4 separate regions of the Homo sapiens genome follow, and regions 1, 2 and 4 are each linked to region 3. Evidence: promoter capture Hi-C in human tissues and cell types (Jung and others, 2019). All regions are on one chromosome and are shown on one strand. Each heading gives the region's core, a stretch centred on a gene start or on the middle of the fragment in contact. The rest is flanking DNA. Distances are from core to core; before and after follow the strand shown.

Region 1 (4,764 bases), core at 1,949-4,448, 300 kb before region 3:
TATTCAGGAGGCTGAGGTGGGAGGATTACTGGAGCCTTGGGCCAAGATTGTGCCACTGCACTCCAACCTGGGTGACAGAGTTAAGACCCCATCTCAAAAAACTTTTTAAAAAACTTAAAAATCTGTTTAAGCTTCCAAAAATAAATGAAAAATAAATATTTAAAGTTATATGTCATTTTTAAGGATACCAAACTTGATTTCAACTAACTAACCACTATCACCAGTAGACCAAATTAGAAACTTATCTCCTTTGCCATTCCATTAAAAAAAGAAAGAAAAAATCTTGCTAAGAATCAGGAGAAAAAATTTGCTTGCTAGTTACAATTCGGTTCTGCCACAATGGCTGAGAGATTGAGGAATACAACAAAAACACTGTGAATGCCACTGACAAACAGCAGATGCAAATAACGGCAGCCTACAAAGTTATTTTCTGCAAGGCAAGAAAACCATCTGGAATGCAGCAGCACCAAATATGCAGAAAGGCAAAACTTCCTCTAAAGACCACACTTATGTTTCATTCATCTTTCTGAGAAATAGAATAATAAATAAAAGGTAAAAACATCAATATGGCACTATTAAACTCTTTGTCCTACAACACCTATATTCATGTGCAAAGTACAAATGCAGTCTAGTATAACTGATCCAGATTCACCAAAGAAAATGGTCAGTCTAAATGACCATCAAAAGCAAGATGGCATGATTTAAAAGAAAACATTTCAGCAAATCTATTGGGTCATTCTGCAGGATGAAAAAATCTCTTAAAATAGGGGAAAACGTTAAAGGTTAAATACAATAGTATGTAGAAAAAGTACTTTAGAGAATGTACCTACCACATGTAGTCATGTGTGCTTAGGAGTAATCTTTTTTTCAATAGGGAGTAATCTTTTTAGGGAGTAATCTTTTCTCAATAATTCTTATGGTACTATTTGACTTCAATCATGAATTCCTCTTACTTAAGTATAGAATCTGCAAAATTCAATAAATGTGACTCAGGCGGTAAAAAGAACCTGTCCCTATCTGCAACATACCTGGAGACAGAGAATAATAAAGACAATTAGAATGCACAATTTCCATATTCTTAGAACCATAAGAGAGACAGAGAAACTTGTAAAACTTACAAAAGCTCTGGAGACCGAAAAAAATAAAAAGAAACATTAACAGGCTGGATACAGTGGCTCTAACCTGCAATCCCAGCACTCTGAGAAGCCAAGGCAGGAAGATCACTTGAGCCCAGGAGTTAGAGATCAGCCTGGACAAAACAAAGTGAGACTCTGTCTCCACAAGATATGAAAAATAAAATAAATTAGCCAGGCACAATGGTGTGCACCTGTAGTCCCACCTACTTGGGAGGCTGAGGTAGAAGGACCACTTCAGCCCAGGAGTGCAAGGTTACAGTGAGCTATTACTGAGCCACTGCATTCCAGCTTGGGCGACAGAGCGAGACACTCTCTCTTAAAAAAGGAAGAAAAGAAAGAAATATTAACAAACTAGTAAGACTGAGATTATCTAGGGTGGGAACCTGCTCTGTGTGTGCAACTCTAGCTGGCCACATAATGACAAAGACAGCCTGCTGCTAAGCAGCACAGAAAAAATTCAAGCAATGCTCTTTCTTGTAATATGAAAGACTAATTAACAAAGATAAAGCAAACGTTACTTGGAAAAATTAAAACCAACAGTTTCAGAAGAATGCACTCTACAACTGTCTATAAATATTTCAGAGTATTGTTTAACTGTAGGCACAAAAAATCCTATCAATGAGGAAAAATCTTATCAGTGAATTACTATCTAATAGAGACTAACAGCTCCCCAGTTAGTCAGTTATAAAGAATCCAAATCTCTTGGTTTATGTTATGAAAGACCTAAATCCCAGAGACAATTAAGTGACATAAGCAGTTACTGAGCCAGTGTTGATACTAATAATACTACTAATAATAGTAAAAAATAAGGATATGTATATAGTACTTACTAAGTGCCATATATGGTTCTATGTGCTTTGCCTTTATTAATTCGCTTATTTCTTCAACAACCTTATGTGGTAGGTACCGTTAATATCCCCATTTTACAGATAGGAAATGGAGACACAAGAAGTGAATTAACTTGACTAAAGACATACTGTAGGGAGAGGCAGAAATGGGACTTAAAGCAGCCAGTCTGCTTCCAGGTCTGGACTTGCAACCACTCTACTAAAAAAAGAAAGATTCTGACTATAAACTATATTAGTTCCACAAAATTACCTCTTCACATATTTTCTATTATTTCCACATTATACTTCATGTTATATTTAATTTGAAGCTAAGAGGAAAGAATTTATTTGCTGAAATTTATGTTCTTTTTAGAAATAACCAAGGTTTATTTTAAAGGTTTCATTACTGAAGATACAATGTTAACCTATAACAAAAACATGTCTAGAATATCAGATTTTTTTAAGGCAGTAGGAAGAAACTTATTCATAAAATTAATACTCCAGGGAAAGTTTCCTTCAAATAGAATCTCAACTTTCTTCAAAGAATTACATGAAAGACAAAATCTGTGGGAAACATTTTAGACATCAAACTATAGATACAGATAGAGATTCACACAGACATGCACACAGAAACATGAAGAATAGAATAGCAGCTATCGTTCCATTATTTTATTTAAACTACTCCAACTTTGTTACTACACAATGTATGAGTTTAGCACATTACAGGACGCACATGAACTTTGAAATCTATTAGCCAATTAGAAGAATATGTCTTTACATCTTTCAAAAAGAATAGGTAAAAAGAAATAATATATTTTCAGTTATAAATATTTTCATCCAAGTCAGTGTAGAAAAATATTGACTAGAAAATTAAGATAAAACTTCAACCTAAAACTACAGAAAAAGAACCTTTCAATGTTTAAAGTTTTGTTATGTTCCTTTATTTGAGATGCTTTGCTGTTCTTCCTATGTAAGACATCACATAGCTTCCTAGTGGTAAACTTTGCTTTTAAAATTTCTCACCCTACTGTGTGATTCTGGTTCCTACTCTAAGTATACACTGTAAGAAATAAAAATTTATTATACCTTCTTCTTCTTCCCCACACCCTCAACTCATCAACAACAAAAAAATAGCTATTAATAATCTCCACACCTCCTAGTATTCATGCCCAGAGACTTACCTCTACTGAACAGAATATGGGAAAAAAAATACATATATATATATATGGAATGTCACTTCCAAGGTTAATTTACGAAGTGACTCTGGCTTCCATCTAGCTTGCCACCACCTTATGGAGAGGCCCACACGAGACAATTATCAGGAATAAAATGAGGCCCTCAGTCTAACAGCTGGCATGCAACTAAATCCAATCCATTAATGTGAATGAGCTTAGAAGCAGATCCTCCTCCCCCCGTGATGACTTCAGTTGAGACTGCAGCCCTGGCCAACATTTTGACTGCATTTATGAAAGACCCTGAGCTAGAGGAACCACCTAAGCCAAACCCAGAATCCTGACCCTCAGAAACTGTGTAATAAATACGTGACGTTTTAAGCCACTAAAACTTTGTGTAATTTATTGTGTGGCTATAAGTAACACACTACCCCTTCACTCCCTCGTGCCTGACCCCAAGACCTTAAACTACTTAAGATTGGGCCGGGTGCAATTCACGCCTGTAATCCCAGCACTTTGGGAGGCCAAGGTGGGTGGATCATTTGAGATCAGGACTTCGAGAACAGCCTGGCCAACATGGTGAAACCCTGTCTCTATTAAAAATACAAAAATTAGCCAGCCATGGTGTCTCGTGCCGTAATCCCAGCTACTTGGGAGGCTGAAGCCTGGGAGGGTGGAAGTTGCAGTGAGCCGAGATCGCATCACTGTACTCCAGCCTGGGCAACAGGGCGAGACTCTGTCTCAAGAAAAAAACCAAAAAAAAAAAAAAAAAAAGCCAAGATTACCTCAGATTTCATAAGCTCCGTGACTTTTAGCACACATATAGGCACACAGGGCTCAGATTCTTCGTCTGGCCACCCATCTTTTTTTAACTGGACTTGTAATTTTCAAAGATCAATTCCCAGTGCACCAGCAAACCTAAACCGTCATTCACAGCATGAGAGTTCACAAAAAGTACAGACATCTAGAAATGGTCACAGAAAAAAAAGAAAAATGTGGGAAAACACTTCACTTGGCAACACATACTTCCCTATCTTAATAAATTCTCCCATTAATAAGAAACTTTTCTCAGTAACTGAATAGATTATTTCACCTGTTTCCTGTAGTTCTTCTTTTCCTCACATTATTTTCATGAAGTTATATGGCAAAGCCTCTCAAAATACTTTCCAAGCACCGTAGAGTTAAAAATATCAAGTGTGGCTAATTTTAGCTATAAAGGCACCAGGCAGAGCCAAGTTAGACAGACGTGGAAATAAAAACGGGATGAAAGATGGAGTGGGAGTGGAGGGTGGAGGGTGAGCCACACTGACTTCTTATATTTTTATTTTGCAAGGTTATTAATTTCAATGAATGAATAGTGTCAGCAAAAGACAAGTACCATATGAGATCAAGAAAGAAAAACTAAAGCAGAATACTATAGAATCTCAATCTATTTTTCTCAAAATGTAAGCAGGGAGGGTTCTGCTTCTGGCCAAGTAATGGCCAACTTTCCAAATGACCCTCCCATAGATAAAACTATAAACTCTGGATTAAAATTAAAAAGAATTTTTTTCTGAGACAGGGTTTCACTCCGTCACCCAGGCTGGAGTGCAGTGGTGCTCACTGCATCCTCTACCTCCCAGGCCCAAG
Region 2 (4,746 bases), core at 1,007-3,506, 270 kb before region 3:
ACAAAAAGCTGTTTCAAAAAAAAAAAGTAACCATATTAAAATAGTACACAGCATGGCTCCAATGTGAATAGTTATATAAACTTTGATTAACCAAAATTGGTTATATAACCATATAGAGAAGATGGAAAGTATGCATCGTGGGGAGGAGAATGTAAAACAGCTAAACCACTATCTTCCATCATGGCAAGTCAAAAGATAAATCTAAAATTGAAACAGTCAAAAAAGGTTAGTTTAAACACGTTATCTGGAAATTAAAAACTACCAAAGAAATATGTCAGTTGATAGTGGTTCCTCTTGAGAGCTGGATTCTAGCAGGAAAGGGAAAAATGGATTTTTTTTTTTTTTTTTTTTTTTTTTTTGAGATGGAGTCTCTCTGTCGCCCAGGCTGGAATGCAGTGGCACGATCTTGGCTCACTGCAACATCCACCTCTCAGGTTCAAGTGGTTCTCATGCCCAGCCTCCTGAGTATCTGGGAGCACAGGCATGCGCCACCATCCCCAGCTAATTTTTTATATTTTTAGTAGAGACAGCGTTTTGCTATGTTGGCCAGGCTGGTCTGAACTCCTGGCCTCAAGTGATCCGCCTGCCTCAGCCTCCCAAAGTGCTGGGATTACAGGCATGAGCCACCGCGCCCGGCCTACTTTTTTTATTAGCCTTGTAAAACTACATGACTATATAAATTATTAATATGTACATGTATACCACATGATAAAAATTAAATTTTTAAATCATGCTCTAATTTTTTAAAACCATGCTTTAGAATAATATTTAATTACAGAGGAAAGTATTCACAGTATATTTAGGGGAAATCACATTATAGAACATTATGTTCAATAAAAAAAAAAAACTAGCATTGCCTAAAAACAAACAGGAAGTGTATGTACTAACGTGATTTTCTCTCAAGTAGTGACATTATTTTGATTTTCTTATGTAACTTTCAAATGTTTTATAATATGTACGCATTATTTTGTAATTTTAAAAGAAAATAAGAAAAGATAGAGAAGTTTACTAGAGCTCAAAGATCAAACAATTAAAACAATATTGCTTTCTGTTCCAGTTAGTCTCTAGGACCTACTGTGGGGTTATAATAAATTTGTGATTTTATAATTACTATAAAAATATTGGGGGATACTCTTAACATTTGGTAAGAAAAGAACGATAGGTCCCCAGTAAAAAAAATTCTTTTTTTTCCCAAGTATGCTTGCATTTCATTCATCTTAAACTTCATACCAAGATTATGTGACTCAAGAGAGCTGACTTCCAATTTTAAAACTCTGGATGAAGGGGTCACAATCCAAACTTAAAACTAACCAAATAAATGAACAAAAGAAAACCACTTACAACTTCTCCATGCCTAAACAGAACTAAAATTAAAAGAAAAAAAAGAAACAGCCAACAAAGTAGAGGAATTATTTACACCAATGGCGACATTTTAACGCTAGTACGATCAACCACTCCAAAAGCTGTATTTGGCCCACATACACGCTCAAGAAAAAACAAATAGCAGAATATTCACGACATTATAAGATCCAAAAACTGCAACCAATCCAAATGTCCATCAACCTTAGAATGAATAAACTAGTATTTCACACAATAGAATAAAATGAATGATACAGATGAACGGCACAGATCTAACGTTAGGCCGAAAAAGGCAGATACAGAATATGTTCTATGTGATTCTATTCACATGAGTACAAAAGCAGGCAAAACTAATTGACGCTGTTCTGGGTCAGGTGGGGTTACTCTTTGGTGAAAGACTGTGACTAGAAGAGGGCATAAAGTGATGGTTACACATGTGTACTGAGTTGGTGCTATGTGCCCTTTTCTGTACATCTTATATTTCAATAAAAATTTCAAGTTGAAAAAAGATAATAGTCCCTGTAATCCCAGCACTTTGGGAGCCAAAGGTGGAAGGACTGTATGAGCCTGGGAGTTCTAGACCAGCCTGGGCAACCTTGTCTCTACCAAAAAAAAAAATTTATTTATTTATTTACGTATTTATTTATTTATTGAGACAGAGTCTTGCTCTGTTGCCCAGGCTGGGGTGCAGTGGCGCGATCTCTGGTCACTGCAACCTCTGCCTCCCAGATTCAAGTGATTCTCCTCCCTCAGCCTCCTGAGTAGCTGGGACTACAAGCGTGCATCACCACGCCCAGCTAATTTTTATATATTTTGTAGAGATGAGGTTTCACTATGTTGGCCAGGCTGGTCTTGAACTACTGACCTCGGGTGATCCACCTGCCTCGAGCCTCCCAAAGTGCTGGGATTACAGGCATGAGCTACCTTGCCCAGACAAAAAAAAAATTTTTTAATTAGCCAGGTGTGGTGGCCCACATCTTTGGTCCTGGCTACTCAGGAGGCTGAGGTGGGAGGATCAGCTGAGCCCAGGAGGTCAAGGCTGCAGTGAGCTGTGTTCACACCACTGCACTCCAGCACAGGTGACAGAGTGAGAAAAAGATAATACTCAACGGCCAACAAGCACATGAAGAGATGCTGAACATTTTTAGTCATTAGGGAAATGAAAATAAAAAACCACAATGAAATCAAAAATCACACTCACTAGGATGGCTATCATAAAAAACAAAACACAAAAAATTTAAAAATAATGTATTCGTGAGGATATGGAGAAATTAAAACCCTCATCCACTGCTGGTGAGAATGTGAAATCACACAGCCAACGGGGAAACCAGTTTGGCCAGTCCTCAATGAGCTAAATGGAAAATTACCTATCATGTAACCCGGCCAATTCCACTCCTAGATATATGTCCGAAAAAACTGAAAACAGGTATTCAAATACTTATACATAAATCTTCATAGCAGCTCTATTCACAAGAGCTAAATGGTGGAAATGACCCAATGTCCATCAAGAGATGAATAAATAATCAAAATGTGGTATATCCAAACGATGGAATATTAGCCATAAAAAGGGAAGACGTACTGACACTGCTATGACACGGATGAACCCTGAAAACTTTATGCTTAGTCACAGAAGCCAGACACAAAAAGCCATGTACTATATAATTCCATTTACATGGAATGTCCAGAATAGGCAAATCCATGGAGACAGAAAGCAGATTCATGGCTGCCAGGGGTTGATGGGGAACAGGGATTGGGAAATGATTGCTTGGTGGGTACAAGGTTTTCCACTTAGGGTGATGAAAAAGTTCTGGAAGTAGATAGTGGCAATGGTTGCACAACACTGTGGATTTATTTAATGCCACAGAATTGTACACTTTTAAATGGTTACCATGGTAAATTTTATGTTATCTGCATTTTCCCACAGCAAAAAAAATTTTCAAAACAAAAATAATACTTAATGCTGGCCAGGATACAGTAAACACTCTCTACACTTTGGTAATTGGAACATAAACTAAAGCTTTTGCCAAATATTCTGGCAATAAATACTAAATAATTCATATCTTTGCCCCAGTTTATATTTTGCCTTCTGAGGACCAACCGTAAGAAGCAAAAAAGTTTTATATCCAAAGTGCTCACTGTAATACTTACAATAATGCAAAAAAAAGGGGGGGAGGAGGGATCTAAATGCCAAACTATTGGGGAATGGGTAAGTCAACCACGATACATTTACAAAATTAATTGTGTCAACACTAAAAATGTTTACTAAGGTATGAAATGAAGAATGTTTATATTATGAAGCAAATATTAAAACAGCAGAATACAAATTCTAAAAATACAAGCCAAAGTATACATCTACAAAGACTCAGTATGTGTCCTATGGTTTTGCTACGGACACTATTTTCTTCCTACTTTCTGTCCCTTGAACAAAGCAAGCTCATTTTCATTGCAAGGCCTTTGGACCTCTTCTGCTTAGAGTACTCTTTTCCCTGCTCTCCAATGACTGCCTCCTCATCTTTCAGAGCAACTCAAACGTCCCTCCCTAAGAAGCCTTCCGTGACCACCCCAACCAAGTTAGGCCTTGCCTTCACCACCCATCTTTTCTCACTACACATTTTATCTTTTTCACACTTACTGAGAATAACAGACTTATTGGTACATCCTTCTCCTCCATTCAGCTACCAGAATGTAAGCCCCCTGGGTACATGACTTGTTTAACACCATTTCCCCAGGGCAGAGAACAGTGCCTGGTGGTAATAATAAATATTTGTGAAGATAATAAATATTTGTTGATTAACTTGTTCCTTCTACTTTTTCAGTTTGTCAATTTTATGTGTAATAAGCACATATTTTATTTTTAACACTATTTTTAAATATACAACTAGATCAACAAACAACACTTATTGAACCAAAGAAAATGTGTAACTTTGCTAGATATTTTCTGAGAACAAAGCAAAGGTCTGGTTCAGCCATAACAACAAAAATAACTAATTATAAACTCTTCCTAATAAGGGATAATGCTCTACTACACCTTATAGCATATTTTATTATTAAAGATGGGGAAAAAAACAGTGTTTTTTCTACTCTCACACAACACACTCCTGACACCAGATTCTCTGGCAGACACTAAGTGAGTTATGATTTAACTCAATTCTGACACTATGTGGAAATAACATCACATCCCATAGGTTAAGGGATCAGTCCCAGAAGACCACCCCAACTTCTAATGCCAATCTCATGCCCCAGGTTGTGACCTGTGCTTCTGGCCCAATAGCTCTAAATCAGGGTTCCCATAAGCTCTCCCCAGAGTTTAATTTGCTAGAGCAGCTCACAGAACTCAGGAAAACACTTTACTTATGTTTACCCATTTATTAGAAAGATTTTTTTTTT
Region 3 (4,769 bases), core at 2,037-4,536:
ACCTCTGGAACACAGATGTTCTTGGCTTCCCTTTAAAATCCCCCAGTGGCACCACCCAATGGAACACACCAGCCCAACACTTCAAGGCCACCACCTACCCCTCCTCCTTCCTGTCCCCACACTTACCAGACACTAGGGGAAGGAAGGACTGTGGATGGGCCCGTTGGAGAGGTCCTCAGTTGGAGCTGTCTCTGGCAAAGGCAAAAGCAGCCCCAGCCACCTCCCAAGCTGCCAAGGGCCAGGCGTCGGGCCTAACACTCATGTCCTGCAGGGCTTTCCTGACCAGCGAGTCCTGGGGTACCAAACTGTAGACTTTCCTGAAGGATCACAGACACCAAGCATCACATGGGAGCCACCCTTTTCCAGTGTAGGGGTCTGGATGGAAACCCTCCAGCACACACCTGTGTATGCATGCTGCCCATATGGACCTTTAGGTTCTGCCCAGTGGGCTCCCTCCTGCCTTGATCTCTCCCCAAACTCCCAGAACTGGTTCTCCATCCATCAGTGCTCCTCTGTGCGACCCTACTCCTCCTTCCTCGGCCAGCACCACCTGTGGCCCCAGCCTCTCTCCTCTTTGCCAATGGCTCAGGGACCTGCTGGGTCTAGGGGAGCAGCCCTCTCCCACAGAAACCCTGGAGGTTGTGGGCTCACGGTAGGGCCCCAAGCAAAGGACTTCACCTGGGCCCCAAGGGCCAATGCTACTGGGGAGGCTCCCCAGGGTTCCCCAAGAGCTAGAATCAGGAAAAGGGAACACAGCAGCATGAACAAGGAAGGCTTGAAATGTGAAGTGGAAAGAAAAAACATCCCCATAAAATGCTCACAGAGAGAGCATTGTCCCTGGAAAGGGGAGGGTGCTGTGGTGGTGCTGGGAGTGGCATACCCTCGCCAGTGCTGCAGAGGAGAGAGGCCTCTGCGGAGGGAAACACCTGCGGCTCCTCTTCCCCCTCCCTCCAGCCCCAGTCATGCCTCTAAGTTACTTGTCTCTTGCCAAATAGGCTTCCCAGGGTGGTTTGACAAAGTTTGATATGAACTCAGGGAGGTGGCTAGCAAATACTATCAGCCTGAGACGGAGGTAAGGTCAGGTGGCCAGTCCTGTCTGCCCTCTCCGATGAGCACCCAGGTTAGGGTAGAGCTCTGGGGACCCACAATCTCTCTCAGACCTTTCAGCTCAGTCCCAGCCTGTCCCTGCCCATTAGACACATAAAGTCCAGATCCCCCTGAAACAGCTCCGTCCCTCTGGCTCTCCATGGGACAGCTCCTCTGCATTTTCACAAACAGGCACGCTCTGAGCAGGCAGCTGGGAACACAGACACCATGGGACAGTGCTGCCAGGCTGAGGAGAAGGCAGGGGGAGGGGAGCACCCAGCTGGCAGCTGTATAGAGGAGGCCAAACCAGCAGCTAGGCACTGTGGTTGAAGTGGCACTGCCTGGCTGAGAACCCCTGGCAATATTCAGTCATCCTAGATGTATGTGAATGCCTAGCACTTACCTGTGCCTTCCAGAAATTCTCCATTCATCCCCTTATTCCTACTCAATATGCCGAGGGTAGGAAAGCCAAGAATTACTGCTGAGGCCCAAGAGCCAGAGTGGGCAGCAGGTGACTTCACGCTCCCAACCCAAAGTTCAACCCATGTGCAGGCAAGCGTCTGATTGTGGCCAGTGGGAGAGGGCTAAATCCAACAGCTGGTCTAAATTTGCCAAAGTAAACTACCTATGCTAATCCACTGCCAGTCTCCATTGGCAGCAAGGACTGGCCTGGTGGTCAACTTGACAAGCTCTAGAAATACCAGCAGAATGTTGCAGGAAGTATATGGATATTGTTCGTTCTTGCAAGAAGGCCCGTACAAATTCAGGGTAATTTTATCATCACCAAATCTTTCAATCCTGTGATGACAATAGCGAAACTACAAGCAGCTCCAGGCCTTCTGCCTCAGGAGCTAACTCTGGTCTTTCAGATGCAGAATAAGGTTGCAAAGTAAAGTACAAACTTCTCCTTATGGCAACACCAAACAGGACCCAGTAACCTGGACAACTGTTTACCTCCTACCCTGGAGCACAAAGGAAATGACACAGCCCCTGGCTGAAACCAGAGGCAGTGTGGCTCAGGGATTATGTGAGCAGGCTCTGGAGTTAGGGTCTCAGCACCACGCAGTTCAGACAAGCAGCCTAACCACTCTGTGCCTTGGCTTCCTTCGCCAGGAAATGCGAGTGATGACTTTCTCTCACGGAGCTGTTGGGAGGCACAGATCCCAAACAACACCTGTAAAGCACTTAGCCCAGGACCCGGCCCTAGCAAGCAATTAGAAGCTGTCTGCCTTTATTTTAAGTCGCCCCTCCAGCTAATGGGAAACACAAGGGCAGGATCCCACCTGACGTCTTCTCTGTTAGAGCCCAACGAACAGCTAGGAGAGACCTTTGCCCCCACACTAAACAAAGGAGAGGGGCGTGTGAAGGGAAAAGGAGCCTCGGCTTCCGTTCATATCCCCCTTGAAGGCACAGCAGACTTGAGGATGACCTGAGAGGTGTCAAGGGAGGGTCAGTGGGTCCGCCACGCTGTCCACCCCTGCCCTTGAAGAGGACACCACCTGCCTGGGGCTGAATGACCAAGGCCCCTCCAGGGCCTCAGGTAGCTAGTCTTATCAGGTGCTGGAACCTTTGCGGATTTGGTTTCTTAGCAGAGCTCGCCTCACCCTTTCCGCCCCCGCCCTTCCCCCCAGTCCCCGAGTCCCCAGCCTCCCTCCTCAGGACTCCGCCAAGGCTGCAGGAAGTGGTCACCCAGGAACAGCCCGAGGGGTGGCCTCTGCCTTCCTGGCGTCAGGAGAGTCGGACGCTTGGCCCTTTCCCAGCCCGGCCTCGTATAGGGTCCGAGGAGCCCATAGCTGCACTCCTAGTTAGGTGGGAGGTCGGACTCCGCCGACAAATCCCAAAGAGAGGGGTGGGGAAGAAGGAGATACCAGCCCTGAAAGCGAAAAGCCGGAGAGGAAAGTCCTGAAAAGCCGCCAGGAATTCCCAAGGAGCGCAGGGCTGGAATGGAGGCGCTGCCCGGACCCTCTCCTCCCACCCAATCCCGCGTCGTCACCCCCTGCTTGGGGTCGGGGGCTCTGGGGTCTGCGTAGGCTGGGAGCCGTTCCGGAACCGGACACCTGGCGCGCACGTCCCGGGAAAGGCGGAGGGTGCATTGCCCCTCCTCACGCCCCCTGTCCCCTGTACCTGCGGCGGCGGCGTGTCTGGCGGGACCCAGCAGCGCGGGGCGTGTTCCGACCACTTAAAAGTTACAAAGTGAAACTCCGGCGCCTCCTGCACATGCGCAGAGCTGCGGCCACCCCTTTCCCAATTTGGAGTCTTGGCCCGCGGCGGCGCAAGCCTGTACGCAGCTGACTGCGCCTCCCGCGGTGGCCCTCGGCGGTCCTCTGCCCCGGCCTGGCCTCCTGGTCGCCGCTCAGCCCCGCAGCTCCTCCCGGAGGTCTGCAAGCCCCGGACCGGCCAGCTCACGTCCAGGCTCCAAGAAGGGATCCGCCGGGGCGCACCCTCTTCCGTCCCCCGGCACGAGCCCAGTCTCTGGACGCCTCCGGGAGAACTGGGCCAAGCACAGGGTGGTCGCGGCGCAGGGAGAGCATCTGCAAACGTTGGTCCCTGTAGTGCTTTGAATTTCCCCGAAGAGCTCTTAGACCCGCCCCGGGAGAGTGGGGTTGCGGGGGTGGTAGCATGGGGAGCTCAGCAGGATTCAGCCCGCACCTCGGCTCCGGGTAGTCGGGAACCGCGCGGAGCGCCCTGCAAGAGGCCACGGCTCCCCCGCCGCTGTAGAAGGCCGGACCGTGAAAGCCCGGAGGGTCTCCGTTCGGGCAAAAATGTGGGGGCGGGTCGCAGCATTTCCAACGCCCCCTGGGGCTAGTCCATTACTGCTCGAGCCAGGGCCGCCAAGGGCACCTACTCCAGCCCAGGTCCGAGAGCGCGGCATGCCTCCCGGCCGGGAGCCAAATGTTTCCAGGGAGCCGGTGGCCTCCACAACCGGACCGCAAGCTCGCGAGGGCAGGGCCGGCCCGCCGCGCCAGGGACTGCTGGGCGCTGCGCGGGAAGCGAGGCTGGGTTCGGGGAGGACCGCGCGCCCTGGGAATCAAGGAGCAAACCAACCCGTCCGCAGGCCCCTGTTTCCCTATCTGTGAAATGAGTGGTTGGACCAAAGCTTCCTCTCAGGTCCCTTCCAGCACCCCTCTCTGAGCTCTGAGCAGTCCTCACCCCACATGCATGCCTTTGCAGGTTCTCCGACCTCCCTTCCATTTCTGAGCTTTCATCTTTTTCTGTAACGGCATAAAAATATCCTCCTTATGGCCGGGCGCGGTGGCTCATGCCTGTAATACCAGCACTTTGGGAGGCCGAGGTGGGCGGATCACCTTAGGTCTGGAGTTCGAGACCAGCCTGACCCGCATGGAGAAACCCCGTCTCTACTAAAAATACAAAATTAGCCGGGTGTGGTGGCACATGCCTGTAATCCCAGCTACTAGGGAGTCTGAGGCAGGAGAATCGCTTGAACCTGGGAGGCGGAGGTTGCGGTGAGCTGAGATTTCACCATTGAACTCCAGCCTGGGCAACAAGAGCGAAACTCTGTCTCAAAAAAAAAAAAAAAAAAAAAAAAATTCCTCCTTACCTCCCTGTCCCTGATTCTAGCGCCAGTCTGTGGCTGTCCAGGAGTGGGGTGGGGAGGGTCTCTTCCTGCCTCTCTCAGTTCTTTTCTGTCCCATCTGTCTTTCCCCTTCTCTCCCCAAAGCTCT
Region 4 (5,069 bases), core at 458-2,957, 500 kb before region 3:
ATTACAAATATTTAAGATACCAACATATTATAAGGAAATGCTTTTAATAAACATACTAGATATGCTTATTAATGTCCCTTTGGTCACTTTGAGAGGCTATAATTATCCCAGTCTTGCTGCCTTTGCTTATTAGAGACTTGTCTGTGGGACTTAATCCAAACATCTATCATATTCAATGTAATTTCCTTAGTGGTAGCAAATCTTTGCCCTCTGAAGGTAAGCTTGATTTTTGACACCTTTTGACCTTTTGAATTATTTGAAGCTACCTGGGTTGAATTCTAAGGAGAAAATCAACTTTACAGTCAAAACAGTGTGATGACAAAGTAAGGAGCCATGTGACCTCAGGCGATCTGTAAACTGGTTTGGAAGCAGCACTGTTGGACTAAATACTTCTTGGCAGCTTTAAGGTTATTGCTTACCTTGAAGGATAATATTCATTTGACTGTGAAACCTGGAGTGTTTGTTGAAAAATCAGTCCTGGCCGGGCGCGGTGGGCTCACGCCTGTGATGCCAGCACTTTGGGAGGCCGAGGCGGGTGGGTCACGAGGTCAGGAGTTCAAGATCAGCCTGGCCAAGATGGTGAAACCCCGTCTCTACTAAAAATACAAAAAATTAGCCAGCATGGTGGTGAGCACCTGTAATCCCAGCTACTCGGGAGGCTGAGGCAGAGAATTGCTTGAACCCGGGAGGGGGAGGTTGCAGTGAGCCAAGATAGCAACACTGCACTCCAGCTGGGGTGACAGTGCAAAACTCCGTCCCAAAAAAAAAAAAAGAAAAGAAAAAGAAAAATCAGTCCCGGCTAGTAAATAGAGCAGCAGAACTCAAAAGAGATGTGCCCCATTTCCTACTCATCCACTAACTGTCTAAGGAGGTCCTCCCACCTCCCGGGGCCCTGGTTTCATCATCTTTAAAAGGATTCCAAAGAGCTCTTCCAGCTCTAGTGTTTAGTGGTTTTGCATAGTATCGCAGCCTCACCTAGGCCTGGACACGCGCTCCTCCTGTCACCACCCGCGGAGTGTGTGATTAAGAAGCCCTTCGTGTCAACACAGGAATGAGGCAAGCAGTGGAATGTTCCATGCGGCTGCTTCAGCGTGCTCTGTTTAGTTGCCTCCTCTTTTTCATTGTCTTGCAGATGCATGCAGATGATTATTTTACAAAGAAATCCTAAAAAAGCTTTTATAATACATATTTCCTTGCAAATGTCTAAAGTACATTGGACAGTTTCTCATCTACAAAATGAAATGAATTCCATGGTCTCTGTAAGATCATCCATAGCATAATTTTGTGGTTCTGTGAAGATACATTTATCTTCAGACGGAACTTAAGCAGAGGACCCTCTAACATTAGATAGATCTGTAGCTTGTTTTTCTCTTGATTTCTTTTATTTTATTTTCCTTTCCTTTTCTTTTTTTAAATTTTTTTTTTGAGATAGAGTCTCGCTCTGTCACCCAGGCTGGAGTGCAGTGGCATAATCTTGGCTCACTGCAACCTCTGCCTCCCGGGTTCAAGTGATTCTCGTGCCTCAGCCTCCTGAGTAGCTCAGACTACAGGCGCCCACCATGCCTGGCTAACTTTTGTATTTTTAGTAGAGACAGGGTTTTACCATGTTGGCCAGGCTGGTCTCAAACTCCTGACCTCAAGTGATCTGTCTGCCTCGGCCTCCCAAATTGCAGGGATTACAGGCATGAGCCACTGTGCCCAGCCAATTTTTATTTTTTTAATTGACATAATAATTGTACATATTTCTGAGGTACATAGTAATGTTTCAATACATACAATGTATAGTGATCAGATCAGGGCAATTCATATGTCCATCATCTCAAACATTTATCCTTTGTGTTGGGAACTTTCAGTATCCTCTCTTCTAGCTATTTGAAGATGTATAATCTATTTTTGTTACCTATACTCATCCTACAGTGGTATAGAACACTAAACATATTCCTCCTGTCTACCAGTAATCTTGAATCCTTTAACAAATCTCTCCCCATCTCCCCACTTCCTGTTCTGTGTCTCATTCTTCTCTTGGTTTTTTTTGCAGACCTGAGCAGAGTAAGGATGAACTGGTGATGGAAATTCTATCCGACTTGCTAAAGCGGCTGCCACTGACAGTGGAGAAAGAAGAAATTGCTGTTGGAACTCCAAGCACATTGAAGAGCATGATGTCAAGCTCCATTTGGGAGTCTCTTTCTAAAAATCTCAAAGGTGAGCATGGGACAGGAGCTTTTTCCCCTTACCTCACTCTCCTCAAGAAAGGACTCTGGTGTCAGGAGTAAGGTAAAGATAAGACAAAAATTCTGTAGAAGTGAAAATACTGAGATAAGATGGAAAACTCAGTCTCTGCCTCCTCTCTCCAAGTTGAAAGACAGAGAGCACAGAAGAAAATCACGCTTTAGTTTGGGGGTGGGTAGCGTGTGGCACTGAAATCAAAAGTGAAGAAATAACAAGTGTAGCAAACTAGAAAGCAGCAACTCTGCTTTGGAGATTGTCAAGAGTTCTAGGTGCCTGTTCTCTCTGCCTCTCTGCCTTCTGGAACAGCGGAAGTTTAGATGGACCTTCTGCTGAAAGACCACTTGACTCCAAGAAGCTAAGGGGAATCAGGGCAGGCCCAGGAAGACAGAGGAAGCCTGATTGCCCAGAGATGACTCCAAACCCAGCTCTAAGTGGCTAAATTGCTAGACTATGATAATTTTCCCAGTTAAATTTTAATACCCATATTTTATCCCTTTGCAGAAGTTTATTTGGGAACCAAATATTGAGCAATAGTTTATCAAAACAGTGTCATTGTTGAGTCTCAATCAAAGGTCAGCAAATTAGGGCTCGCAGGCCAAATCCAGCCCACCATTTGTTTTTGTACAGCCTGTGAACTAAAATGGCTTTTGCATTTTTTAATGGTTAAAAAAAATCAAAAGAAGGAATATAGTTTGTGACACATAAATGTTATATGAAACTCCAATTTGAGTGCCATAAGTAAAGCTTTACTGGAACACAGCCACACTTACTCATGACATATTGTCTATGCATCCACACATAGTAGATAGTGTGGCCGCACCCACACTACAAGGGGAGAGCTGAGTAGCTTTCACAGAGGTGGTGTGGTCCCCATACCCTAAAATGTTTGCTATCTGACCTTCTACAGAAAATGTTTATCAACCCCTGGTCAAGACACACAAAATTCCCTTAACTTTCAAAGCCTAAGTCCCTCCATGTAAAGCCTCTTTTTAATCTGTAAAATATCAAAATTTTATTTCTTTTTAAAATCCAGATCACGACCCCCTTATCCATTGTGTCTTGCTAACCTTTTTGAAGCAAGAAATTAAACGATTTGATAAGTTATTATTTGTCATACATAAATCCTTAAAAGATCTTCAGCTTGCTATAAAAGGAGAGATCATCCTCACCCAAGAATTGGAGGAAATATTTAACTCTTTTCTTAATATGAGAGTGCCTACATTGTGGCAGGTAAGCAATTATTATTATTTCCTATTTTCTTGCTTGCTTGAAATAAATGTCCAAGTTCAAGGGAATGGTGAAGGTAAATGGTGCATCTGTGTGATGAAATATGTAACTCTTAAAAGATGCTGACGTACTTTTTCATATTTTCACATCTCTGAAGTTGGAATGCCTCTTAACAGTCACTGTTAGCCAGGCAGCACCATCACTTAGTTCTCACTATCTGTGTATGTGAACTATGTATCATGGCAGTTCATGTCAAAGTAGGTGCACTCTTGGTATTACTATAAGTGTTGAGTTTAATTGCTTTTAAAATAAAAACAAAGCTAAACAAGATGATGAAGAAATTACTGGGTCATGGTCTTAAACAGAAGACCAAATTGTAAAAACACAAAATGTATTAGACCAGGAATAAAATAAGCCATGGAAGATCTGGCAGCACAGAGTAGGAAATTAACAAGCTTGATGTTGGACACAAACACTATTTCTCCAGAAATGAACTTCTCCCCTTAGGATTAGCACTGGCCTTTTCCAGAACCCTGAATCCTATACCAGATTGAAAACCTGTGTAGACATGTGAAAAGATGTTCAACAGCATTTGCTTTGAGGGAAATGCAAATCAAAACCACAATGAGATACAACTTCACACCTACTAAGATGGAAAGAATTAAAAATACATAAAAACAAGCATTGGGAGAAATTGGAACCCAAATGCACCACTCATGGGAATGAAAAATGGTGCAGCTACTTTGGAAATAGTCCAGTAGTTCCTCAAAAAGTTAAACAGATTTACCATTTGACCCAGCAATTTCACTCCTAGGAATATATCCAACAGAAATTAAAGCATAAATCCAGGCCGGGCACAGGGCCTCATGCTTGTAATCTCAGCACTTTTGGAGGCCAAGGTGGCGGATCACCTGAGGTTAGGAGTTTGAGACCAGCCTGGCAAACATGGTGAAACCCCGTCTCTACTAAAAATAATAATAATAATAAAATGGCCAGGCATGGTGGTGGGTACCTGAAATCCCAGCTACTTGTGAGGCTAAGGGAGGAGAATTGCTTGAACCCAGAAGGCAGAGGTTGCAGTGAACTGAGATCATGCCATTGCACTCCAGCCTGGGCAACAGAGGGACACTCTGTCTCAAAAAAAAAAAAAGTCCACCCAAAAACTTGCACATGAATGTTCATGGCAGCATTATTTGTAATACCCAAAAGGTGAAAACAACTCAAATGTCCATTGACTGATGAATGGATAAAATATGGTATGTCCCTGTAATGAAATATTATTCAGCCAGCAAAATGAATGAAGTACTGATACAGGCTATCACATGGATAAACCTTGAAAACAGTAGTTCTTCTGTGCTAAGTGTAGGAAGGCCATCACAAAAGACCATATATTGTATGATTCCATTTACAAGAAATGTCCAGAATAGTGACAGAAAATAGATTATTGGTTGCCTCAGTTTGTGGGTGACAGAGAACTGGAGAATGGATGCTGAGAGGGTTTTCTTTTGGACTCATGAAAACGTTCTACAATTGACTACAGTGGTAGTTGCACAACTCAGTGATTATACGAAAAACCATTCATTTGTACACTTTAAATAAGTAAGTTGTATGGC

The links. Contacts are between HindIII fragments. The study calls those that stand out against the background at their distance.
Region 1: a contact is called between a fragment that was not itself captured here and the fragment with the promoter of TMEM63A in region 3, in 2 of the 25 tissues and cell types used here (adrenal gland and mesenchymal stem cells).
Region 2: a fragment that was not itself captured here is called in contact with the fragment with the promoter of TMEM63A in region 3 in 1 of the 25 tissues and cell types used here (IMR-90 fibroblasts).
Region 4: a fragment that was not itself captured here is called in contact with the fragment with the promoter of TMEM63A in region 3 in 2 of the 25 tissues and cell types used here (mesendoderm cells and spleen).

The regions. Positions count from the first base shown.
Region 1 is chr1:225,577,023-225,581,786 of GRCh38, forward strand. The region is part of intron 1 of ENAH (ENAH actin regulator); the gene reads right to left. Among named protein-coding and RNA genes, the nearest start is that of ENAH, 74 kb to the right of the region's middle. The HindIII fragment of the contact is 7,894 bases long and covers 1-4,764 here.
Region 2 is chr1:225,609,326-225,614,071 of GRCh38, forward strand. The region is part of intron 1 of ENAH (ENAH actin regulator); the gene reads right to left. Among named protein-coding and RNA genes, the nearest start is that of ENAH, 41 kb to the right of the region's middle. The HindIII fragment of the contact is 7,233 bases long and covers 1-4,746 here.
Region 3 is chr1:225,879,094-225,883,862 of GRCh38, forward strand. TMEM63A (transmembrane protein 63A) reads right to left here and starts at 3,287. Exons shown (of 25, transcript NM_014698.3): 1 at 3,211-3,287; 2 at 127-317. RefSeq lists enhancers at 893-1,843, 4,046-4,095, 4,156-4,205 and silencers at 2,696-2,815, 3,376-3,535. The HindIII fragment of the contact is 9,047 bases long and covers 1-4,769 here.
Region 4 is chr1:225,378,121-225,383,189 of GRCh38, forward strand. It overlaps DNAH14 (dynein axonemal heavy chain 14), which reads left to right. Exons shown (of 86, transcript NM_001367479.1): 80 at 2,039-2,202; 81 at 3,263-3,459. Among named protein-coding and RNA genes, the nearest start is that of LBR, 47 kb to the right of the region's middle. The HindIII fragment of the contact is 3,469 bases long and covers 1-3,442 here.